Regions from separate parts of the Homo sapiens genome. Here regions 1, 3, 4, 5, 6 and 7 are each linked to region 2. Evidence: promoter capture Hi-C in 16 types of primary human blood cells and fetal thymus (Javierre and others, 2016). All regions are on one chromosome and are shown on one strand. The core of a region is centred on a gene start or on the middle of the fragment in contact, and the rest is flanking DNA. Distances in the headings are between cores, read along the strand shown.

Evidence for each region. Contacts are between HindIII fragments. The CHiCAGO score rates a contact against its expected background, and 5 or more counts as called.
Region 1: a contact is called between a fragment that was not itself captured here and the fragment with the promoter of APOL6 in region 2, in 2 of 17 cell types (M0 macrophages and endothelial precursors). The highest score is 7.7, in M0 macrophages.
Region 3: a fragment that was not itself captured here is called in contact with the fragment with the promoter of APOL6 in region 2 in 2 of 17 cell types (endothelial precursors and M1 macrophages); the score reaches 5.2 in endothelial precursors.
Region 4: a contact is called between a fragment that was not itself captured here and the fragment with the promoter of APOL6 in region 2, in 2 of 17 cell types (endothelial precursors and M0 macrophages). The highest score is 6.5, in endothelial precursors.
Region 5: a contact is called between a fragment that was not itself captured here and the fragment with the promoter of APOL6 in region 2, in 1 of 17 cell types (neutrophils). The highest score is 5.3, in neutrophils.
Region 6: a contact is called between a fragment that was not itself captured here and the fragment with the promoter of APOL6 in region 2, in 3 of 17 cell types (M1 macrophages, M2 macrophages and fetal thymus). The highest score is 6.1, in M1 macrophages.
Region 7: a contact is called between a fragment that was not itself captured here and the fragment with the promoter of APOL6 in region 2, in 3 of 17 cell types (M0 macrophages, M1 macrophages and endothelial precursors). The highest score is 9.5, in M0 macrophages.

Annotation. Positions count from the first base shown.
Region 1 is chr22:36,078,292-36,082,073 of GRCh38, reverse strand. No RefSeq gene overlaps it. Among named protein-coding and RNA genes, the nearest start is that of RBFOX2, 51 kb to the right of the region's middle. The HindIII fragment of the contact is 2,254 bases long and covers 1,044-3,297 here.
Region 2 is chr22:35,646,566-35,649,980 of GRCh38, reverse strand. It overlaps APOL6 (apolipoprotein L6), which reads right to left and starts at 1,535. Exons shown (of 3, transcript NM_030641.4): 1 at 1,358-1,535. RefSeq lists an enhancer at 1,531-1,830. The HindIII fragment of the contact is 8,876 bases long and covers 400-3,415 here.
Region 3 is chr22:36,003,683-36,007,573 of GRCh38, reverse strand. All of the region lies in intron 1 of RBFOX2 (RNA binding fox-1 homolog 2), which reads left to right. Among named protein-coding and RNA genes, the nearest start is that of RBFOX2, 23 kb to the left of the region's middle. The HindIII fragment of the contact is 228 bases long and covers 1,802-2,029 here.
Region 4 is chr22:36,108,447-36,112,116 of GRCh38, reverse strand. No RefSeq gene overlaps it. Among named protein-coding and RNA genes, the nearest start is that of APOL3, 50 kb to the left of the region's middle. The HindIII fragment of the contact is 1,193 bases long and covers 1,732-2,924 here.
Region 5 is chr22:35,227,456-35,230,892 of GRCh38, reverse strand. All of the region lies in intron 1 of LINC01399 (long intergenic non-protein coding RNA 1399), which reads left to right. Among named protein-coding and RNA genes, the nearest start is that of LINC01399, 1.9 kb to the left of the region's middle. The HindIII fragment of the contact is 2,590 bases long and covers 354-2,943 here.
Region 6 is chr22:35,979,128-35,982,737 of GRCh38, reverse strand. All of the region lies in intron 1 of RBFOX2 (RNA binding fox-1 homolog 2), which reads left to right. Among named protein-coding and RNA genes, the nearest start is that of RBFOX2, 48 kb to the left of the region's middle. The HindIII fragment of the contact is 5,413 bases long and covers 1-3,610 here.
Region 7 is chr22:36,137,748-36,141,277 of GRCh38, reverse strand. It overlaps APOL3 (apolipoprotein L3), which reads left to right. Exons shown (of 4, transcript NM_145639.2): 4 at 1-949. The coding sequence ends at 78. Among named protein-coding and RNA genes, the nearest start is that of APOL3, 21 kb to the left of the region's middle. RefSeq lists an enhancer at 1-325. The HindIII fragment of the contact is 260 bases long and covers 1,908-2,167 here.

The DNA.
Region 1 (3,782 bases), core at 921-3,420, 430 kb before region 2:
TATAGTAAGATACTGGAACAACTGATTAGCTGAGAGAAAGAGGATGAGAATGAAGCAAGGTCTGAGAAAGACTACAGAGACTGACCACAGACACGGGCATCTCACACACATTTAGAGCAGCTCAGTCACTTAGAAGTCACTTAGGCCATCCCTCTCACTTTTCAGATGAAGAAACCTACATTGGCTCAAGGTGGCTCAACCAGGAGCAGTGGCAAGGAACACTCTCATCACAGCACCAAGCTGCCTCACGTTCTGGATACAAAACAACTGTGGATTTCTCCCAAGACTTCCTTCTCATGTACAAAGTTCTGACTCAGGCTGGGTGCAGTGGCTCACACCTGTAATCCCAGCACTTTGGGAGGCCAAGGTGGGCGGATCACTTGAGGTCAGGAGTTCAAGACCCACCTGGCCAACATGGTGAAACCCCTTCTCTACTAAAAATACAAAAAATTATCTGGGCATGGTGGCACGTGCCTGTAATCCCGGCTATTTGGGAGGCTGAGGCAGAAGAATTGCTTGAACCCAGGAGATGGAGGTTGCAGTGAGCTGAGATGGTGCCACTGCATTCCAGCCTGGGTGACAGAGCAAGACTCCATCTCAAAAAAAAAAAATAAAATAAAATAAAAAGAGTTCTGACTCACCCAGAGGAGAAGGAAAGGCCAGGGCTGGATGGGCTGGCCCCCAGGGACAGAGTGCTGAAGAGGCCTAAGAGGGGCCGCTGCCACAAAGGGACAGGCCAACCCCGCTCTTCATAGCCCAATGTGTGGAGCCCCATGACATGTTCCTCACAAAGGGATTTATGTGAAGTGCGTAAGTCAGTATTGCCATAGTTTACCTCATTGCTTTCTCAGAATCCTCCCCTACCAAGCAATGACTCAGGATGAAAACAAACCAGTGGGAAGGAACAGAAGTCCAGGCCCTAGAGCTGGCTGCATCTGGCTTTCACCCCAGCTCTGCTTCTGATGCACCAGTGACATTGAACACGACACTTGGCTCTTCTGTTTCCGCGTGGTCTGTAAAATGGTAAATTACTTCACCAAGCTTCTGGGAAATGAATGGAGATAATACATACAACAGGCTTAATACAGGGTCTTATTTATGCGGCCAAGAAACATGAAAAAAAGTGGGGCCAGGCACGGTGGCTCATGCCTGTAATCCCAGCAGTTTGGGAGGCTGAGGCGGGTGGATCACCTGAGGTCAGGAGTTTGAGACCAGCCTGGTCAACATGGTGAAACACTGTCTCTACTAAAACTACAAAAAATTAGCTTGGGCATGGTGGCAGGCACCCGTAATCCCAACTATTCGGGAGACTGAGGCAGGAGAATCACTTGAACCCAGGAGGCAGAGGTTGCAGTGAGCCGAAATCTCCCCATTGCACTCCAGCCTGGGTAACAAGAGCAAGACTCCATTTAAAAAAAAAAAAAAAACAGAAAGAAAGAAAAGAAGAAAAGCTGAATATCACTGATCATTAGAGAAATGCAAATCAAAACCACAGTGAGACACCATCTCACACCAATGAGAATGGTGATTATTAGAAAGTCAAGAAACAACAGATGCTGGCAAGGCTGTGGAGAAATAGAAATGCTTTTACACTGTTGGTGGGAATGTACATTATTTCTCAACTATTGTGGAAGACAGTGTGGTGATTCCTCAAGGATCTAGAACCAGAAATTCCACCTGACCCAGCAATCTCATTACTGGGTATATACCTAAAGGGATATAAATCATTCTGTTATAAAGATATATGCACACATATGTTTATTGCAGCACTATTCACAATAGCAAAGACATGAAATCAACCTAAATGCCCATCAGTGGTAGACTGGGTAAAGAAAATGTGCTACGTATACAACATGGAATACTATGAAGCCATAAAAAGGAATGAGATCATGTCCTTTGCAGGGACATGGATGAAGCTGGAAGCCATCATCCTCAGCAAACTAACACAGGAACAGAAAACCAAACACCGCATGTTCTCACTCATAAGTGGGAGCAGAGCAATAAAAACACATGGACACAGGGCAGGGAACAATACACACCAGGGCCTGTCGGTGGGGTGAGGGAAGGGAGAGCATCAGGAAAAATAGCAAATGTGTGTGGGGCTTAATGCCTAGGTGACGGGTTGACAGGTGCAGCAAACCACCATGACACATGTGTTTACCTCTGTAACAAACCTGCAGGTTCTGCACATGTATCCCAGAACTTAAAGTAAAATAAAATTTTTTTAAAAAAGGCTGGGCGCGGTGGCTCATGACTGTAATCCCAGCACTTTGGGAGGCCGAGGCGGGCGGATCACGAGGTCAAGAGATCGAGACCATCCTAGCTAACATGGTGAAACCCCGTCTCTACTAAAAATACAAAAATTAGTTGGGCATGGTGGCACACGCCTGTAGTCCCAGCTACTCGGGAGGCTGAGGCAGGAGAATCCCTTGAATCTGGGAAGCGGTGAGCCAAGATCGCGCCACTGCACTCCAGCCTGGTGACAGAGTGAGACTCCATCTCAAAAAAAAAACAAAACAACAAAAAAATAGTGTCTTGCATGTAGAAAGCCCTCAGTAAATTGTAGCAATATTGCTGCTTTTGTGGCAGTGATATGTTGCTTATTTATTTATTTTTAAATTAAAGACTTGTCCACCTAGTACCTTTTACAAGGGGCAAGTAACATCCTCTTTAAACCTCAGTTTCCTCCTCCAGAAAATAAGAAAAGAAACTCCCACCTCAGAGGTTATTGTGAGAACTTGGGGTTAATGGTGTAAAGTGCCTGGCTCATAGCCAGAGAAGATGGAGAGCTGGCAACCATCCTGCCAGGCCCCCTCCTGCACCCAGGGCAGACATTACCAGGTGAGCTTGGATGCTGTCCTGCACCAAGGGCAGACATTACCAATTGAGCATGGATGCTAACTCTGTGTGCTTATCAATGCATGATGCAGAGAAACTCTATTTGCCATCGCTGTCATATGTTCAATGAATATTAATTCCCCTGGTCCTTCTCTACCACCTTTCCTTCCAAATAACTAACCCGCAATTCCTAACCTGGTTTGGTGAGAGGTTCAGCTTGGAAGAGGCTGTACTAAAATTGTGGGATCCTGTGAGTCAGATAGAGTTCCAAAGGCGTGTTCATACTGCATCCTCTACTATTAAGACATTCTTGGATTTCCTCAAAAAAAGTTTCTAGACAAGGGAAGCCTTCCCGAGAGGGTGATGGTTTCCCATAAGTGTAGGTACTGGGGTTGAGATCCCAGGAACTCCAAGTTCCTCATGTCCACAGCCAGTGGATGAAATTTCTCCTTCAAAGCTTCATGCCTTGGTCTTTCCACATTTTGAAAATTAAAACACCCACGGGAGAATAATAAGCTAGCTGTTTCAGGTATTCACTATTATCAGGAGCTGGGAACTGGCTTGAAAGGCCTTGGAGGACCAAAGAATTAGGGAAAATTATGAGGAGAAAAATTACTTCTGAAAATAAGAATTGACTATAGAATTTTAGGACGAGTGCTAAATTTGAAGGTAGGCAGAACTGTGTTCAAATTCAAGCCAGACCACAACTAGCTGTATGCCCTTGGGCTAGTCAATTAATCTCTCTTAGCTCAAATTATTATCTGTAAGGATAATAATGCTCATTTTTGTTTTGTTTTGTTTTGTTTTTTTGAGACAGAGTCTTGCTCTGTCGCCCAGGCTGAAGTGCATTGGCTGGATCTTGGCTTACTGCAACCTCCACCTCCTGGCAGTGATTCTCGTGCCTCAGCCTCCCAAGTAGCTGGAATTACAGGAACGCACCACCA
Region 2 (3,415 bases), core at 286-2,785:
CTCCTCAGGGACACTGCTAATATCTGGAAACATTTTTGATGGTCTCAGCTGGAGAGGGTACTGCTGTTGGTATGTAGAGGGCAGAGGCCAGGGATGCTGCCAAGCACCCTACGATGCAGAGGACAGCCCCCACAACCAGGGATCACCTGGTTGAACATGACAAGGTTGCTGGGGGTAAGAGACTCTGGTCTGGAACCCCATTTTTTACCAGCGTCCGCCAATACCTCTCTCATTTTTTTACATTAGTCCTATGGGATGCAGGGCAAAGGTAACAGCAGGAAACTCATCTAAGCAGGTCCCATTCCATCCCCTCTGACCTGCTCTTGGTGGTTGCGAGAGGATTTGCTTGTGAGAGGTTTATTGGAAGAGGATTTGAGAACTTACTTTCATTTGAAAGCTTACAGGATATTTATGACAGTCTTTCCTTACCTGCCTTCCCCCACAAAACCAACTTCTGCAGATACACAATCTAAGTAAGAAAAATCTGCTTACTTTGAAAACACAGCTTCAAGATAACCTCCCTAGATTTTTTTTTTTTTTTTTGAGACCGGGTCTCACTCTGTTGCCCAGGCTGGAGTGCAGTGGTGCGATCACTGCTCACTGCATTCTTGACTTCCTGGGTTCAAGTGATCCTTCCACCTCAGCACCCTCCCAAGTAGCTGGGACTACAGGTGTGCACCATCACGCCCAGCTATTTTTTGATTTTTTGTAGAGACGGGGTCTCACTATGTTGCCCATGCTGGTCTCAAACTCTTGGGCTCAAGCAATCCGCTTGCCTTAGCCTCCCAAAATGCTGGGATTACAGGCATGAGCCACTGCGCCTGGCCTAGTCGCCCTAATATTTATCACAAACTCCCTCACCCTCTTCCCCAAACAACTTCACATAAATCTACAATCTAGAAAACTCTGTAGGTTGGCTTTGCAGTTTCTAGACAACTCACCCAGCACCTTTTTTCTTGTGAGATGACACCCCTAAACCACTCCTCTACTGAATTTCTAGGGAAACGCCTGTGGCTGATGTAATCATCTGCTTTCTAAGGGCCAGGTCCCCTCTGCCTAAGCCCTCGGATCCCCAGCAGTGGAGGGACAAATGCAACTTGGCTAGTCACATCGCATGCTTTAGCATGTTTCAATTTAACCCTGAAATGGCTGTAAGGGAGGGAAACCTACCAGGATTAACACAGGAGAAGTTAATCCTCAGACTCTCCTCAAGCTCTGGCTGGCATTTGAACCCCGCTGCTTTCACAGCAGCTCTTTTCCCTGAGTCAGGTGCCTAAAGCCAACCCCTTGGGGGCTCTGTCCTTCAGGGACCAGAGCGGCAGCCCCCTCCTCCCCCGACTTCTGCCCGCCGTCTCACCTTCTCTCCACGGAGCTCTCCTTTGTGGCCTTGGGTCCCGAGGGAGAGGAAGATCCTGAACCTCTGTCCTTGCCTCTCCGAGGTCCCCTGGTCTGGCAGGGGGCTGTGAGTGTCTGGGCTGGAGAAAGACGGATAGGAAGAGTAGGGTGGCCTTTGAACAGGAATTGATTGCAAAACTGGTTTCGGTTAAGTGCTGCAGGAGAGAAAAAGCAAAGCTCTAGGGCTCTTCCAGGAAATCATGGGCTCCAGCTGTCACTTTCAGTTTCCTTTTTGCCAGTTTCTCTAATTGGATGAACAAGGAGGTGAAAGAGCAGAATCCAAGTCAGGAGGCCTGAGTCTCTCGTCTCTGTCCTGGCTGTGTTATAGGATGGACCTATATGGGGTATGAAAATAGCTCCTGTGGCTTAGAGCTATGGTGAGGAGCCCATGAGCAAGCGATGGGGCGCCTGTTGAATAGTGGATTCACAGTAGCTGTCATCACTGATTGTTCTGAAACTGCTTTCCTCCACAGCATCTTACGTGACGCTGATGTGGGTAACAACCCTATGAGGTGCACAGCATTAAAGGGCTAATAACTCTGAATGCAGAATCCTCTGAAAATGGAAACTTTATTTTATTATTATTATTATTATTGTTTTTTGAGATGAAGTCTCGCTCTGTTGCCCAGGCTGGAGTGCAATGGCACGATCTCGGCTCACTGCAACCTCCGCCTCCTACGTTCAAGCTATTCCCCTGTCTCAGCCTCCCTAGTAGCTGAGATTACAGGCACCTGCCACCACGCCCGGCTGATTTTTGTATTTTTAGTAGAGATGGGGTTTTGCCATGTTGGCCAGGCTGGTCTCAAACTGCTGACCTCAAATGATCCATCCATCTAGGCCTCCCAAAGTGCTGGGATTACAGGCGTGAGCCACCGCACCTGGCCTCAGAATGAAAACTTAAAAAAAAATGATAATTTATTCATTTAGTGGCAAAACCTGACCTGATCTGGCATGAATTCACCTGTGGTTTTTATGTCTCCTGCTTAATTTGAATATTTACAGTCACTGCAGAAATATTAATATGTTTGACTGAGGAGGGCTGCTGCGGGTGCGTGGGTTACATAGTACACGATACCTGCACCCCATTACCTTTCTAAAAATCCCCCAAATCAGGAACTCTGACATGCATCTGGCCTCAAGGATTGGAGATATAGGATTGTGATACTCTGTCTCCCACTTTAAGGAAGAGGAAACCCAGGCTTCTAGAAGTTGTGGGTTGTTTGTGATTACACAGCTAAGAACCAGTCCTAGGCTCTGTGTCTACAAGAATGAGCCCACAGTGAGGTTACGGGCTGAGATCTGTGTCTCTCTAGCATTTGTGTCAAATTGTGATCAGAAGCCATGTGGTTTGTTTGTATTTATATGCCCAGAAGTCCCCAGTCACCACCCCTAGCTGAGACCACATTGGAGGCTGTTGCTTTGCAGAAGGTGCGGCCCACCTAGCCAGTCCTGGCTTTGCTGTGATAGAGGCCACCTCCTGTCCCTGGGCCCTACGAGCAGGAATGAGGGGTTAAGGGCTGCTGAGTTGGGTCTTGTAGGGGCCTTTCCAACCGTGGCATCCCGGATTCCACAACCCACCCCTGCTCCTGGCCTCCCACACTTGGGGAACACGCTAAACACAGCCTGACCTTGAGGAGGACTTGGCTGCCTGGCTGGGGCCGCTGAGCCATCCCAGGCCTGCCTGTTGTTTTCCCTGGCAACGGACCCAGATGTTGTGGTCACTGCTCGGTCCTGGGAGTCTCAGGGGCCAGACCGGCCATTGGATGGGGGCAGTGTTTACCACCAGGGCTCTTGTGAAACAATCGCCCCAAGAGATGCCATGTGAGAAAAATGTTCTGTAGCCAAATGCAGGAAGTGCTGCTTATGTAAGGGGACAGAAAACATCCACCCTATAGCTCAGATGAACAAAAGTAGGGAGTCGCTTAATTTCCTAGAGTCCACTTCCCTTCCCTCAAGGGACCCAAGACCTGCTGAAAAGAAACAAACTTGCCTGAAGGCCCCTTAGTCTCTTGTGATTTAA
Region 3 (3,891 bases), core at 666-3,165, 360 kb before region 2:
TTTGAATTTTGTATTACATGCATGTATTACTTGTTTTAAAAATAAAATAATGTATTAAAATTACACAGGGATAGGTACTGTGTAAACATAGGGTTTATGGTCCTTAAACTTGCTAATTTTCATAGAAATGAGTCAAGTTGTGTGTTGGAGAAAAAGTATGCCAATTCTGCTTACCACAAATAAAAAATAGTACTTGTGTGGTGGCGCATGGTCATTTTGTCATTTTGATTTTGTGTATGACATTGTTTATTCTATGTAGGATATTCCAGTACTTATATTTACTTATTATGTATTTATATTATATATATTTATATGTTTGTATATTAGCTATGTTTTCTTACATTTTTTATTTACTGAAAGTGCTGATATGGAGGGGTAGATAAGAGATGATTAAAAATGGAAAGTACATTAGAAATGGTGAATGTGTATACAAGATGAATCATTCAACAATACAATTATAAAGGGTCAAGTGCAAATCATAAAGTGGATTGAGAAGAAGCAAAATGAGTGAGAATCACTACCATAAGCCTCTCCCTTGTTCTTAAGAAATGTCCCCTAGCTAGACATGCACCCATGGGTTACTTGGATTTTTTTCACCTTGGAATTTTATGAACAAATGGACTTAGGAGCAGCCTTTCATTACAGAACCTAACTTGGTGGTGGATAGAGGAGTGTCTGTACCAAGCCAGGATGAGTAGTGCTTCTATGGGAGCATAATGGAGGAATTGAGGGATTCTTATCTGGCTGGGGTGGGATGGGCATTTGGAGAACATTCTGCAGAAGCTGTTGCTGCGTATTGAGTGGATAAGCAGGGCAGGTCATTCTAGACAAAAGAAACAGTATGTACAAGGGCAAGGTATGAGAGGAACTGCAAGTGAGTCAGTGAGGTTGGGGTGGAGGGCATGCGAGCAAGGGATTTGCCCAAAGTGTCGTTGGTAGTTAGTTCATCCGCACACTGCTGTTCTCTTGCAATCATGTAGGACCATTGTTCACCAAGCTGGCTGGGCACTGGTGATTAGATTCTCCTACCACTTCAGAAACATATCCTTATAAGGGTAGATGGAGGAATATAGTCTTTGTTCATTAAGGAAAAAAAGAGAAAGCAAAAAAGAACAAAGAAAATCTGTATTTGGTTATGTTGTACATATGTAGTTGTACTGACTTCCAGCAGACTATCTTATTTTCTTTTTCTCATCTGTCTGCATCCTTCAAGAAACTTTCCCTCTATTTGGAACCACAGGTTGAGTGCCGCATGGACACAACTTGAATCTTATGTTCTGTTTGATTATATTTGAATTTACATGAAGCACTTTCTACCATGCAGGCATGCATTTTGCTCTTCATAGCATGGAATGCTGTAACAATGTTGTTTTGTCCATTAGAGGCTTTCAAAAATTTTTATCAACATTTAAGTGCTTAATTTCTACAGTATACCAGGGCTGGCAGTAGGTAGGCAGGTGATATTTTATTCACATACCCTATATATTTGCACATTTTGATTGCTCGTTCTGTTAATTAAGGAGAGAATTTCTCTTTTGTAGCTGAAATGTTTTATGCTTTGAATCCACTCAAAGACAAATTATTCTGGAAAGCTTGAACTAAACCTGGTCAGATGCTTCTGAGTTATGAGAGAGGGATTGAAATAAACTTTTTCAGCTAAAAATAATTTTGCTCACAAGTTACCAAAAATGGCTGACTAGAAATGCTTTTAAGATACTTGTCTAAGCTACCATAAGCTAAAGGTCAAGAAAAAAGTTTAGAACACGTTATGAGAAACGATTGGCTCTACTTTGCTAAAGCTTTTGCCAAACCTCTTATTCTGTAATGACCACATGAGACAAAAGCTGGTGAAAGTGGTATGCCTTAGATTCAGTGGGGACCTAGAGATTTTTTCAGTGGAACACATGTGCTGCCTATCTCTTCTGACGACGAACTAGTACCTGTGGAAGGCACTAGGGTTAGGTGAAAATGGGACACTTCATTCTGAAGCTGTTATACAATTGCCTATGCCAATTAATTATTTAAAGCTTTTATCTTCTGTTGCAGAGCAATTTTTGCCCTCAGAATATTTGTCAGTCCTCACAAAGTGCCAAGTGATGGGTATTTAGCATGTGGCATTGCCGTCAGTGTTCTGTCATTTTGTTTAGACACTTCTTTGCATCTCACTGAATTGCAGAATTAAGAATCGTTCACATTTATGGGCAGCACGTTTTTGCAGTATGGTCATTTATCATTGGAGTTTATATTTTATGCTTCCTTCTAGACTCTTAGTGTGCTTTCACGATTATCCAGAGGATTCCTTTGCAGCAGCAGTGTATGCCACTGATTGGTGGTGGTAGCCTTGAGAAACTAGGGAGGCATGTTGACTTTCCTTAAGGTTGCTTAGTATTGTAGAATAAAATCTTGAATTAGAGTAAAATTCAGAGAGAGCTGTTTTTCCCCGTAAACATCATTCTTTTGAATACAGCCAGTATTAAGCCAGGATGCGTTTTCTTCCTAAATTTAACACGTATTTATTGAGCATCTAATGTGTATGAGGTTATGAGAAGGGAAGTTGAATGAGCTTATGTTAGAGGAACTCAACCTTTCCTCAGAGAATGGGAGTCTGCAGGCAGAGGTGGTGGTGTTGACACTTCGAGGAGAGTGAGAAGTTTTAGAAGTAGCTGCTGTTCCTATGTAATAAGGATTCATCAAGAAGTGGGATGAAAGGGTTGCTCAGTCTCAGTAAGTGCCAGCTGGGATTGAGTTGGTCCTGATGGTTTAACTTTTTTTTTTTTGAGACAGAGTTTCACTCTTGTCGCCCAGGCTGGAGTACAATGGTGTGATCTTGGCTCACTGCAACCTCCACCACCTGGGTTCAAATGATTCTCCTGCCTCAGCCTCCCAAGTAGCTGGGATTACAGGCACTTGCCACCATGCCTGGCCAATTTTTATGTTTTTAGTAGAGATGGGGTTTCACTGTGTTGGCCAGGCTGATCTCAAACTCCTGACCTCAGGTGATCTACCCACCTCGGCCTCCCAAAGTGCTGGGGTTATAGGCGTGAACCACCTCGCCCAGCTGTTTCTTAACTATCAGACAGTACTTGGAAGCCCATGAGTGTAGCTGAGTGCACGTTACCTAGTGCCAAGTGTCAATAAACTGAGATGAATGGGTTCAGGTAGAATAAGGGCGTGGGAGAAAACAAAGGACAGCAGGAGCTTTTCCTACGAGTTTGAGATCTTGACGTTAGAAGAGTTTTGGGTAGCAATGATGTGTAAGGATCCAATGGATGAGTTTGGTGTAGGTAGTGCCCCCTGGAAATAAGTAGGTTGAAGAACTTGGAGTCTCAGTTTTGAAAGTGTTGTCAACTTGAATGTTGAAACGATCTAGGCCTAAGCATTGAAACTCTGGGCAAATTGGGAGAAAGTCATGGAGGTTGGGGAAGTGGAAAGAATGATGTATAAGTGGGTTAACTCAGTGACTCTCAACTGGGGGTGATTTTGTCCCCTCAGTTGACATTGGCAACGTCTGGAGACATTTTTGAGTTTTATAATTGTGGAGGTCTTACTGGCATCTAGGGGTTGGAAGCCAGAGATGTTACTTTAACATCCTAAAGTGCACAAGAGAGTCTCCCACAATGAAGAATTATCTGGCCCAAAATGTCAGTAATGCTGAGGTTGAGAACCCTGCATTAACTTTAAAAGAACAGTTGTTGAGTAAAGGCAACAGTTGTTGAATGTGACTGTTTCTCTCCCCTTCTACTCTGCTTTGTAGAACTCTGCACATCCATTTATTCTTCCACTTAGTGACCATTTATGGAGCTCCATTTATGTGCCAAGGCACCATGCTAGATAGTCATTAGGAGTATCAAATTAATTAGATGTCACCTCTTTCTTAAAGTTTATTTTTGT
Region 4 (3,670 bases), core at 1,079-3,578, 460 kb before region 2:
CTGCAGTCACGGTGCCTGCACTGTTTACTTCACATCATGAAAGTTTACATCAATTCACAGTTTTAACCCAAATCAATCTACTTGGGCACAGCTGAGACATAGGTAGCTGAAATCCAAGGGAAGACACAGACACCTGCACCTGCAGCACAGAAGTGACATTCTCAGGAGCCCGCTGGGATTTGAGCTGCTTTGAAAAGGCAGCAAAATCTATAAGGCTAGAGCACGCCGAGAATCCTCGAAGAGACTCGCTGAGTCAGTGGGATGAGCACAGTCCCTGGGACAAATGACCTGGGTCCCAGTACACTAGGACTTGTTGTATAAACTAGACCTTGTTGACTAGTAAATTGTAGACCAGTAAAGTTGACCTTATTGGGGTCTCTCTGCCTCTCTGACCTTTTATTTCTTCATTGGGAAAATGGGGAAGATAATCTGTCCTATTCTACAGGATGGCATTGCCATGTGTCTAGCAAACTCCCCAAAGGTGAAGTGTCAATCATGGGAAGCCCTTCAGACCCCCAGCCAGCTTGCTGGGGGATGGTGGCAGGTGGCTGGCTCTCTCTATCCGGCAGTGGAATACAATGGTGAGACCAGTCTGTGTGTGGACTCTCACACGCGGACGAGTGCTGACTTTGGGAAAAGTTTGAAATCCCCGGGCAGGGCAGATGCCCTCTGAGGTCCCTCCCAGCTCTGGCATTCCAGGGTTCAGGCACACTTCTGGGCTGAGTATTCACCTATAAGCTCCTTTTATCAAAGTTGTCTTCCAGCCGGGCAAGGTGGCTCACACATGTAATCTTAACACTTTGGGAGGCCCAGGCGGGCAGATCATTTGAGGTCAGGAGTTCAAGACCAGCCTGGCCAATATGGTGAAACCCCATCTCTACTAAAAATACAAAAATTAGACCGGGCGCGGTGGCTCATGCCTGTAATCCCAGCACTTTGGCAGGCCAAGGCGGGCAGATCACGAGGTCAGGAGATTGAGACCATCCTGGCTAACACAGTGAAACCCCATCTCTACTAAAAATACAAAAAATTAGCCATGGTGGCACGTGCCTGTAATCCCAGCTACTCAGGAGGCTGAGGCAGGAGAATCGTTTGAACCTGGGAGGCAGAGGCTGCAGTGAGACAGGATGGTACCACTGCACTCCAGACTGGGTGACACAGCTAGATTTCGTCTCAAAAAAAAAAAAAAGGTTGTCTTCAAAGCATGCCCAGTGAGAAGAAAGACAGTGGCCCTGGCTTGGCGACCCCAGAGCTGGTTAGAGGTGTCTAGCACAGCCATCACCTCCAGCCCCGCCTCTGCCTCCCACTTCCCACCGGAGTCTGCAAAACTGGGGTCGGCCTCCTTTGGGTCTGTTTCAGGAATGTTGGTAACTGGAGATTCCTAACAGCGAACCTGGCTCCAAAAACACACCCCCAAGCAGAAAATTCCAGGCCAAAGCAATTTCCCAGCCTGGCAGGAAGCTGCCTGCCTGGGCAGAGGTGGGAGGGCAGTTTGGACCCAAAGAAGGTCCACAGGCTGCCGGCCAACACACGTGGCCCCGACCCCAATCTGCCTCCCGCTGGGCCTGTCCTCCCTCCCTCCTGTCCAAATCTCTTTTCTCTGGCCCCCAGCCACTGGGGGAGGAATAAGAGAGGGTGGCCTTCTGTTCATTTAACCCTTCCCCCCTTCCTCCTCCAGGGTCCCAACCCCCGTCTCTGCCCGTCGCAGTCCCAGGCTCCTCGTCCCAAGCTTCTGCTCCCTGCCGCCACGGGCTAGTAAACAGCTGCCCTGCCCTCCCAGCCACCCTGCACAATGACTCTTATTAAAGCTCCCCAGTTACTAACAAGGGAGACCTAAAGAAGTCCAATCATGTGCCAAGGGTCACATAGCTAGGGAGCCACGATTCTGTCCCATAGCACCACATCCCTCCCTGTGCCCCGACGACAGGACCCTGTGAGTCCCTGCTTCCTCCCTTCCTGTCTTTGCCTGGACTGGAGGTATGGATTGCATGTCTGGCCCTTTTGTCAAAGAATGAAGACAAAGCCATATTCCTCTTTGCTTCCCCAGGGCCAGGTGAGAACTGGATACTCAGAAAACACTGACTGAGGCCGGGTGTGGTGGCTCACGCCTGTAATCCCAACACTTTGGGAGGTTGAGGCAGGAAGATCACGAAGTCAGGAGTTCAAGACCAGCCTGACCAATATGGTGAAACCCCATCTCTACTAAAAATACAAAAATCAGCCGGGTGTGGTGGCTCGTGCCTGTAGTCCCAGCTACTCGGGAGGCTGAGGCAGGAGAATTGCTTGCAACCAGGAGGCAGAGGTTGCAGTGAGCCAAGATCGCGCTATTGCACTCCAGCCTGAGTGACAGAGTGAGACTCCATCTCAAAAATAAAAAGAAAACACTGGCTGAAGGAACCTTTCAGAATGATCAGAAGGGACGTGGGGCAGGGAAGTGGGCAGCTGTGGTGGCCACTTGGCCCCCAGGGGACTGGTCCTCTCTGTGACTGTCCTGTAGAGCAGGGATCCATCACCCCCAGTCCATGGACCAGTTCTAGTCTGAGGCCTGTTAAGAACCAGGCTGCGGCCAGGCGCGGTGGCTCACGCCTGTAATCCCAACACTTTGGGAGGCCGAGGCGGGCGGATCATGAGGTCAGGAGATCAAGACCATCCTGGCTAACACGGTGAAACCCCATCTCTACTAAAAATACAAAAAAAATTAGCCAGGCGTGGTGGCAGGCACCTGTAGTCCCAGCTACTCGGGAGGCTGAGACAGGTGAATGGTGTGAACCCAGGAGGTGGAGCTTGCAGTGAGCCGAGATCACTCCACTGCACTCCAGCCTGGGCGACAGAGCGAGACTCCATCTCAAAAAAAAAAAAAAAAAAAAAAAAGAACCAGGCTGCACAGGAGGACACGAGCAGTGGGCAAGCGAGCAAGTGAAGCTTCTTCTGTATTGACAGCCGCTCCCCATCACTCACATGACTGCTTGAGCTCCAGCTCCGGTTAGATCAGCGGCAGCATTAGATTCTCCTAGGAGCACAAACCCTACTGTGAACTGAGCATGAGAGGGATCTAGGTTGTGGGCTCCTTATGAGAATCTAGTGCCTGATGATCTGTCACTGTCTCCCATCACTCCCAGATGGGACCCTCTAGTTGCAGGAAAACCAGCTCAGGGCTCCCACTGATTCTACTTTATGGTGAGTTGTATAATTATTTCATGATGTATTACAATGTAATAATAATAGAAATAAAGTCTCCAATAAATGTAACGTGCTTAAATCATCCTGAAACCATCCCCCCATCTCCGGTCCATGGAAAATTGACTTCCACAAAACTGGTCCCTGGTGCCAAAAACGTTGGGGACTGCTGCTTTACAAGGTCTTTGCCCCACACCCGAGAGGGGAGTAAAAGGCTGAAGTGTCATCTGGGTACTTGCTTTCTGGCTGTTGGGGCTACATGGGCCACCATGTGTTTTTGCAGCAACATGCCTGAAAATACAAGCCTCTTGCACTGTGAGCCGAGACGTCAGGGGGCCCTTGCCTTGGTCTCTACCACAGCGCCCCCTCCTCCCCTCCCTGCCTACCCTACCTATTAGGTAACTTAAAGATGTACAGCATCTCGGCTGAGCATGGTGGCTCACGCCTGTAATCCCAGCACTTTGGGAGGCTGAGGCAGGCAGATCATGAGGTC
Region 5 (3,437 bases), core at 399-2,898, 420 kb after region 2:
TGGACCAATACAGAGGTAAACAGCCCCCCCAGCACCACTGCCGCTGCTTTAATCTTCTCTTTGGGTCTCAGTTCCCCAACTTTAAAGGTGGGGGCAGGCATTGGATTAGAGTTCATCTCTAAGTCTCTTTTCAGTCAGATGTTTACTCTAGGATTTGCTCCCTGTCCATCCCTTTCTCAACTCTACCACCTGTCATTTCATTTTATTTCTCTAGTTCTGTCCTCCTCTCCAGCCCATGCCCTCACATGGCTAGAGCCTCCTTGGCTCTGCTAACACCTTTAGGTGCTGGGATTACATGCATGAGCCACAGAATCTGGCCATGGTATAGAACATTTTTACCACCCCAGAAAGCTTCCCATGCCCCATTTCTTCTCCAGTCTTTGGCTTCTGGCAACTACTGATCTGTTCCCTGGCACTGTGCTTTGCCTTTTCTAGAATTTCATATACATGGAATCCTACAGAAAGTAGTCTTCTGTGTCTGCCTGCTTTCATTCAGCATAACGTTTTTGTGATTCATCCAGGTTCCGTCATGCATCTGTCATTCATTTCTTCTTGTTACTGACTAGTATTCTATTGTATGGGTATACCATAATTTACCTACCAGTTGATGAACAAGGCACCAGAATGAAAATGGTCCGAGTTTGAATTTAGACTCTGCTATGCGTTGCCTGTATGATCCTGAGCAAACTGTGTAGCTTCTCTAAGCCTCACACTTCTCAGCTGTACAGTAGGGACAGTAACACCTTCCCCTAAGGTTGCTGAGAGGATTAGATGAGCTCAGCCCTGAGGAACACCTCGCTGTGTGTCTGGTACTCAATAGCTGGTTGTTATCAAGGATGTATTGAACTGTCTGAACCAGGTGGGGGCATATTCTGCTCTACTCTTATCTTTCTTACAATATCGTAGGCAGATCCTTGAGATTTTTGGTCATTTGCAGCTAAGTACTTCAATCTGGTTTTTCATTTAATGCTCCTCTTTCCCACCCTCCCGCTCAGGCTTGACCCAGCCCCAGAGACCTGCGCCGGGAGAGGGATGGGAAAGGTTGGGAGCAATGGGCAGGATGCTAGCTGTTTCTCAGGGTGCCTGTGTGGGTTCTTCAGAGGTCCTCGTGAAGAGCTCTTGTGGGAGCCCTGACCACCCCATTAGCCCCCATCGTTGCCAGGGGGAGCCCACAGCTTCTTGCCACTCAAGTCTCCTTGGGTAATGATTAGGATCTTTGGACGTGGAAATTGCTCAAGTCTTGGTCCTTCAGTGGTGTTCTCTCCGCCTGTGGGAGACTCACGCATCTTTGCCATGCTATAGTGGGAGTGCCTGCTGCTGCACCTCCACCCCCTACCCTGTGCCTCGCTCCAGGTCTTTTCTCCCCTGTTCTGTTAGACTTAAGGGGCAGATCAGAGAGTCTGCTGCAGAAACACAGATCTAGGGTCCTTTTCTTTCAGGCAGCCCCTAGCAGATGCTGGGATGTGGGCAATGTCTCCTACCTACATTCCTTGTCTCTGCTAAAGTGCTCACTGGCTAACCTCCAGGGCAGCCCCTGTATCTCTTTGCCTGAGGGCGTTCTACAGTGGCCAGGCCCCGGGCCAGAGTAGTGGGCCTAAGTACCAGGAAATTAACACCACAGCAGCAGCCCTCCATGATGACTGGTGAGTGTTGGCGTGTATTAATAAATGCCCAGGTCCCTTGCCCCCTGGTGGGATGACTCTGAAAGTCGTCTTCCTCACTAGCTCCCAGTGTTTCACAGCAGGATGAATTCCCTCTCATCCACAGTGGTCACTTCTCAATAACCACACCCTTTTCACTGCCGTTCTTTCTCCAGCTCTTTCTTATTCCCCTCCTGGAGTTTCCTTGGATAATCTCTCAAGTTAGTCACGTGTCCTTGGATTCTTGCCTCAAGGTCTCCTTCTGGGGAACCCAAACGATGCCATAGCCCTAATCTTTGCAAATGACTTTCTTGAAGTTGGCTTGGGTGGGAGCCAGGGCCGTACAGCAGGAAACGAAAAGACACAGCGCTCTCCCCATATTTCAAATACTCCCTTGTCTAGTGAGTCCTCTGGAATTCCTCCAGGTCTTTTGCTGATAAAGGTTGGAGGGGCTTGGGAAGGGGTGATGGCTGTGGGGCAGAGGTACTTCTGTCCTTTCTTGGCTCATCTTGCATGGCTATGTCACTGTGCTTTTTAGAATGTGAGAGGATTTCATGCCCATTGTCCCTAGTTTGGGGGTTTATGCAGAATTTTGGGACAACAGGGAAAACCTGTTTTCTTAGCACAATGCACAGCATTTACATATTAGTCTGCTCAGGCTGCCCTAATGAAATATCATAGACAGTGTGGCTTAAATAACAGACATTGATTTCTCACAGTTCTGGAGGCTGGAAGTCTGAGATCAGGGTGCAGTGTGGTAGGGTCTGGTGAGGACCCTTTTCCAGGCTTGCAGAAAGCTGCCTTCTCACTGTGTCCTCACAAGACAGAGGGAGAGCGCTGATGTCTGTTTCTCTTCTTATAAGGGCACTAATCCCATCACGAGGACCCCACCCTCATGACCTCATTAAGCCTAATTATCTCCCAAAGGCCCTAGCCCCAAATACAGTCTCACTGGGAGTTAAGGCTTCAATATAAGAATTCGGGGGAAAACAATACGGTCTGAAGCAGCTTATTGACATGATGATGATGCACCTCTGATTTTACCACTGAAACCTGTTTCTCCTGCTGTATTCCTTATGTTGGGGAAGACATTCTTTCCTCCCTGACTTCCTCCTCCCCTCATGTCTGGTTAGGCATAAAGTGTTGTCAATTCTACCACCTCCTAAGTATTAAGTACTTCCTCTCCGCTGTCCTCCACAACTTCTCTAGGCCAGGCTCTCATGCCTCATATTGGTCAGGATTGAGTTTCATGTGTGTCCCTGTGAAGAGACCACCAAACAGGCTTTGTGTGAGCAATAAAGCTTTTTAATCACCTGGGTGCAGGTGGGCTGAGTCCGAAAAGAGAGTCAGCAAAGGGAGATAGGGGTGGGGCCGTTTTATAGGAGTGGAGTAGGTAGTGGAAAATTACAGTCAAAGGGGGTTGTTCTCTGTCTGGCAGGGGTGGGGGTCACAAGGTGCTCAGTGGGGGAGCTTTTGAGCCAGGATGAGCCAGGAGAAGGAATTTCACAAGGTAATGTCATCAGTTAAGGCAGGTATAGGCCATTTTCACTTCTTTTGTCATTCTTCAGTTACTTCAGGCCATCTGGATATGTATGTGCAGTCTTGGGCCCAGAGGCCTGACATTGAGTAACAGAAAACAGCTCCATTGCTTACAAAGGTGAAGGGTGTATTATTACATGCAAAAGGAAGTCTGGGGCAGGCAGTCCAGAACTGGAACAAATGCCCAAAAATGTCATCAGGGACCCTGGTGCCTCCTCCTGTTTCTACTCCAGTATCCTCAGTGTTGGCACTGGTTCT
Region 6 (3,610 bases), core at 94-2,593, 330 kb before region 2:
GAGACTATTAAAGAATGATTTTTCTTATATAACTGTTGCACTCAACATGTTCCATTGTAGGGACTGTAGCATGGTTTCTATTCAGATATCCTGGACCCTCAGACCTCAAATTACCGTCCAACCATTTCCTTTTCTCCTACCCACTTCCCTGTTCATTCTGCAGTTCTTGTAATCACCCCAGCAAATGTTTATTTAGCGCCCGTATGCCCTGTACCATGCTGGCTGTTGAGGATGTGGAGGGAGGCAGAGAGAGAGAGACAGTCCATGACCTCAGGGGCTCCCAGTGTAGTAGGGAGACTGGTACCAACAAGACCTATAATGTGGTAAGTGCATTAAGAGAATTGAGTAAATGGGGAGATGGGGGGAGGAGGGTCTAAACTAGCTGGGACCGGTGGAAGTCAGGGAAAGGGACCTGGGGGATGTAACAGGAGCTATCCTTCTGTGTTTTAAACAGTAGAAAGAATAGAGAAATACTGGTTTAATGGGTAGAACACAGGGTGGGGGAATTAGGACTCTTCCTTTTCGGTCTTTTGTGTTCAAAAGTATAGCAGCTTTCTTTGCTTCTTGCTCCTAGCATCAGATTATCTATTCCCCTGGAATTATGTGGGTTGGAGAAGAATGGAAAGGAATTTGCCCACCTGCATGGAGAGAGAGGGAGGCAGTAGGGATGTGGGTGTTTAAAAGCCCTTGGCATGATTGGCTGTAAGTACAGATGGCTATTTGTGTTACCATTATTGTAGCTGTTATGCCTACATTCCCTTTGGTGTGCCTCTCTACAGGGATAATTGTGGGGTCCTGACTTATAAGTCTTCCTGCTGCTGGATAAAATAGATGCTGATGTGTTGTGCGTTACAGGGTATACAGTGAATTCTGTGTGGGCTGTCTTCTTACTGCTGCCTTGATCTTTTGGGGCCTCAAACATAAGGGGAAAATGACTAATTTTGTGTGTGCAAATTCACATTGGTGAAAACCAGTAAAACCATAAAAATGGTTATATTCAATTTTCCTAAGGGATTGACCTCCAAATGAAGCTAAAATTAACTTTGGTGAATGCTTATATTTTTAAATTTTTAATTCTAATTTTTTTTTTTTTTTTGAAATGGAGTCTTGCTCTGTCACCCAGGCTGAAGTGCAGTGGCATGATCTTGGCTTACTGCAATCTCAGACTCCTAGGTTCAAGGGATTCTTATGCCTCAGCCTCCTGAGTAGCTGTGACCACAGGCGGGCACCACCACACCTGGCTAATTTTTGTATTTTTAGTAGAGATAAGGATTTACCATGTTGGCCAGGCTGGTCTCGAACTCCTGGCCTCAAGTGATCTGCCCACCTTTCCTCCCAAAGTGCTGGGATTACTGGTGTGAGCCACCACGCCTGGCTGAATGTTTGGATTTTTGAAAGCATTAAATACCAAGGGCTGAGTATCTAGGGAAAAGGTGATTTGTCTGTGAAATCCAAGGAACTGGCTACATTCTGTGTATAACTCTGAGGGAAATAGAACAGAAAGAGGATGGGCTTTACAGTTGCTCTGCATATTTTTTGTTGTGGGACCTTGCTCAATCTACCTAACTTTTCTCAAGCCTCAGTTTTTTCATTAGTAAAATGAAGATAATAATTACTACCATAACGTTGTTTTGGTGATTAAAAATTTATTATTCCACTACTAAAAGCCTTTCAAAGGCTTCTTTCTTAGTATTTATGTCCCAACAGAATGGAATCACTTGCTATCTTTTTCTCCTCTGTGCTTTTTTACCATTTTTCTTGTATCTCTTTTTACCTCTCTACTCAGAAAATTCTCCATAAAGTAAAACACATAACATAAATACATAAGCGTGCAAAGTCAGGTTGCTCCTTAGATCTCAGCCAAATGGTATTTTGTTTTCAAGGAAGCCTTTCCTGAGCCCGATCCCATTCCAGTCTGGAAGATGTCCTTTCTTTTAATTTGTCTGTCCCACCTGCTAAACTGTAAGTTCTCTGAGGGCAGAGATTGTCATATTTACTATTGGGTCTTCCTCTTTTTTGTCTTGTAAATGGTGTATGGTCTGTATGCAAGCTGCTTGCAAAACTCAGGGCAATACCAAGAGACATAGCACCCCCCACCCCCGCCCCAATTGATTTATAACCAGAAGAAAACCGCTTAATTTTCACCTAATTGATGGTAAAGCCTGGTTACTTTGGGGATAAATTTGGCTTTGAAAGTAAACCTGATGCTTTGTGCTTTGGTAGATATTTAACTTCTGTTCTCTTTCATACACAAGAGTTACTCCTTTGCTTTGAGTAGAAAACCATTAGAAAACCAGGGTAGAACTTTTGGCAATTATCCAGTTTAGTAATTGGGCCAAATAGTTCTAATCTCACCACAACCACTACTTCTTAGAAAATGATCTCTTTAAACAAAACATGGAACATCTCTGAGGATGAAAACCTAAGGGAAGGAATAGTTGGAGATCCCCAAATATACTCATATAGATTCCCCCCATTCTTTTTCCTATTTATGGGTGTTCAAGCCTTGGAGAGATGTGTGTGTGTTGATCACATAGGATCTTTTACCTACATGACCTAAGTATATTCCGTTGTGGCCTTTGGTCTATTTTTTTTATACATCTCAAATGTTATCTTTTAATAGGTCATAATGAATTTGTGGTGGAGTAAAGGCCCAACATTCCCTGTACAAGTAAAGGCAAACCATAGCGCCAGTAACCCTTTACTAGTTTATAAGTAAAGGCTATCTCTGTTAGCCTGAATTCCTTGAGGGCAGGGATGGTCTGATTGATTTTCCATCCTCAATGATAAGTAAAGATATTGGCACATACTTCGTTACGTGATGGTTACCTATTTGTCGAATGAGGTAGCATGGTGTAGTAGATTAAAGGCTCCAGAGTTTGACAGACTGAGTTAGTATGGCACTGACACTTGTTGAACCACGTTTTAACCTTTCTGAGCTTTAGGATCAGCTTTCGTTGTGAGAATCAAAGACATTGTACTCTTAAATTCCTGTTAGTGGCTATTATTTTTTCTCCATTGATTCTTTATTTTGAAATAATTTCACATTACAGAAAAGTTACCAGAGCAGCTAACAACCCACAAAACACCCCAAACTCCTGGATTTTCTTCACTCGGATTCCCCAGTTGTTAATATTTCACTGCATCTGCTTCATTGCTCACTCTGTGTGTTTGTGTGTGGGGTTTGTGTACATACATACCCTTTTTCATTGTGCCTTTTCTGAGCTTTTTTTGAGAGCAAGCTGCAGATGTGATATTCCTTCACTCCCAAACACTTCAATGTGTATTCCCCGAAATAGGACTTTCCTATATAACTGGCAGAGATCTCCAAATCAGGAAATCAATATTAGTACAACGCGACCATCCATCCACAGACTTCGTTAACATTTTGCCAGCTGTCCCAGCAATGTCTTTTTCCTTTTTGGTCCGGTATCTTGTCTAGGAATATGCGTTGCATTTAGTTGCATGTCGCCTCAGACCTCTTCAGCCTGGAACAGTTTCTCAGTCTTTACCTTTCTTTCATGTCCTTGACATTTTGAAGAGTCTAGATCTGGGTCCATCTGTTTCTTCATGACAGCAGTAATATCATTTTCGGCAGGAATACCACTGC
Region 7 (3,530 bases), core at 788-3,287, 490 kb before region 2:
CAGGCTCAGGAGCTGGAGGAGAATCTAATGGAGCTCACTCAGATCTATCAGCGTCTGAATCCATGCCATACCCACTGACCCCAGACCAGTGCAGCCAGCAGGGGAGGTGAGCCATACACAGGCCACGACAAAATGCAGGCATTTTATTAGGGGGATAAAGAGGGCAAGGTAAAGTTTATGGAGCTGAGTGTTAGTGACTTTGGCATTTCTGTAGCTGAGCACAGCAGGGGAGGGGTTAATGCAGATGGCAAGTGCACCAAGGAGAAGGCAGGAATGCTGGAGCCTGGAATAAGGGAGGAGAGGGGACTGGAGAGTGTGGGGAATAGGAAGAAGAAATTTCCTTTAGACTAACGAATATATTGGGGGGAGGAATAGAGGGGAGGTGTGCAGGAACCAGCAATGAGAAGGCCAGGAAAAGAAAGAGCTGAAAATGCAGAAAGCCGAAGAGTTAGAACTTTTGGATACAGCAGAAGAAACAGCGGCTCCACTACCGACCTGCCCCCGGTTCGATGTCCTTCCAAGAATGAAGTCTTTCCCTGGTGATGGTCCCCTGCCCTGTCTTTCCAGCATCCACTCTGTCTTGTCCTCCTGGAAGTGTATCTCAGTCAGCCAGTGGCTTCTTGATGATGGCGGTGGAGGTGGTGGTTGTAGTGTGATGGATCCCCTTTAGGTTATTTAGGGGTATATGTCCCCTGCTTGAACCCTGAAGGCCAGGTAATGAGCCATGGCCATTGTCCCCAGCTGAGGACCAGGTGTCTCTAAAAACCCAAACATCCTGGAGAGTATGCGAGAACCTACCAAGAAAAACAGTCTCATTACTCATATACAGCAGGCAAAGAGACAGAAAATTAACTGAAAAGCAGTTTAGAGACTGGGGGAGGCCGGATCTCTAGAGCCATCCTGCTGAGTGCCCTGTGTGTAAGTCCTAATAAACTCACCTACTCACCAAGCTGGACTTATTCGAGTCATTCCTTGGTCTCCTGGCTCCTTTCTCGCTTTGGGAGCAAGTTCCTGTCTGAAGTTTTTGTCTGAACAGTGGTAAAGGTGATGGTGATGATGTCAGCAGACAGCAGGAGGACTTGACAAATGTCAGCCCTGCTTGGGGCCAGGATACACTGAGGGAACGATGACATTCCAATGAAACTCCAAATTCTGTATTGGAAAAGTCATTGATTTGTGAAGAAAAATAAAAGGAGGCTGGGCACGGTGGCTCAGGCCTGTAATCCTGGCACTTTGGGAGGCCGAGGCGGGTGGATCACCTGAGGTCAGTAGTTGGAGACCAGCCAGGACAACACAGTGAAACCCCTTCTCTACTAAAAATACAAAAATTAGCTGGGCATGGTGGTGGGTGCCTGTAATCTTAGCTACTAAGGAGGCTGAGGCAGGCGGATTGCTTGAACTCAAGAGGAGGAGGTTGCAGTGAGCCGAGATGGCGCCAATGCACTCCAGTCTGGGAGACAGAGCGAGACTCCATCCCCCGCGTCCCCCCCCCAAAAAAAAACAAGGAAGAGAAAAGCAAAACCAGATGCCAGGAACCAATCAAGGAACTTTGTGGTGCATTGAGGAGATGAACCAGCCTGCAGTCAAGAGACCCCGCCTCTCTGAGCCTCAGTTTCCTCATCAGCTGGGAAAGAGGGGCTGGACAAGATGATATCTCAGGTCCACCTGGCTCTCTCCTCTTGTGTTCTGGAGATCTGGGTTCAAGCAACACTGATCTATGCCTGTGCCTTTGTGGTGCTGATGGATGGGCTCCCCTGGGCTCTCGGTGCCTGACTTCACTTCCTCATGATCCTTCTTCCAGGGACTCAGGGAGCTAGGCCTCCATGGCCCCTTCTGCTTGTTCTTCTGGTCGGTCATTTCTGGGCGACCCCAGTGCCCAGTGGCCTGTGAGGCACTCAGGGAAAGCTTGTAGACATCTGGCTTGGCCCAAGTGCAGGCATGGTCCCCATCTAGCAGCCAGGGCCCACGAATGACATGGGTCACACAAGGCTGACTAAAATCAGAGGGGCCTGTGTGTAGGTTGAGAGAAAGTCCATGAGAAATAGAGGAACAGAGAGAGATAGCCAGACAGCAAACACCCTCATCCAGTCTGCAAACACCCTCATCCAGTCTGCAAACACCCTCATCCAGTCAGCCCTCTCATTTCACCCAGACTCCTGCAAAAGCTTCCAGAATGGTCTTCCCTGTTATACAGCCCTTGCCACTATCCCTGCCCATCCTCCACACTGGGCCAATTTGCCCCGTAAGAACATAGATTTCTTCAAGCCCATGCTTCCATGTCTTCAATGGCTTCCTATTACTCTTAGCACAAAAGCCCAGAGCCTTCATGCTGTCTAATGTAGGCTGCTGTGGCCTGAGTTCCCCTGAAGGGAGAGCCCTAGGCAAGGCTCCCAGGCAGAGGATTTGTTTGGGAAGTGATTCTAGGAGCAGGACTGGGGTACTGGGAGGAGTGACACAGAGAAGGACAGAAGGCTGATGCCGGGAGAAATTCTTGATAGGGTCACCCATGTGGGCGACTGGAGACCTCCTGAGGAGTCTTCAAGGAGCGTCTTCAGAATGTTCCTCTACAGGGAGGAGAGAGGGAGGCCTGTAACCACTGCTCCTGTCCCCCATGGCCTTGCCCCAGTGGACATTAATTATCTGTATTTCCATGCATAGAATATAGAACTGCTGGGCGCCTCAGCTGGAGCCCAGAGCAGGGGCAAGAGATACAGAATGCACAAAATCACCCCAGAACCTCTCCTAAGTCACTCGTAAAGTGCACCCAGGGCCTACTTAGTCCTTTTTTATGTAGCATCCTGCAGAACACTTGCCTCAGTCCCTGTAACTCTCCATCAGCCAAGGCTTCCCTGACCTTCAGTTGATTCATCTATTTCTTCCTGAAGAAGTCAACAGAGCAACGGCCACCGACTTGCCTAACGCCAGAACATTGTGTTTCATTTGTCTGTCAATTGTTCATCAATTCCTGGATAATTCCCATTCTTTTCATACATTTCACTTAAGCTTTGAATGTTTCTGGCACTGAGTAATTTACTTCTTCAGTGATCCAGCCAGCATTTGCCCTGACACTTAGAGTTGAAATGCCATCAGGCTACCTGCATTTGATGCAATTCCACTGTACTGCTAGTATTGTTTAAAAATTTTTCAATTGCAAGCAACAGAAACAGAAACTATCTGTCTTAAACAAAATAGAAGATTCATTGGATGAAAACTAGAGCAGGTCAGAGGATGGAAGGAAGAACAAAATCTACAGAATTTGGAAGGACAGGAGCAGACCATTACCAACATCAGGAATATATGGTTTGCCCTTTCAGGGCTCTGCCTGCACCTGGCTTAGCTCCACACACTTTGATTCCTAGTGTCTCTGATTAAAGTTTCACATACTCAGTAGACAGAATAGCTTGGGTTAGTGACTCTTCTTGAACTAATCAGTGAGGCTATGGTATCAGGAATGGGGATGGGTAACAGAGACACAAACCCTAATGGGAAGCCTCTGGCCAAACAGCCACCTGAATTTGTGCTCATTGTAT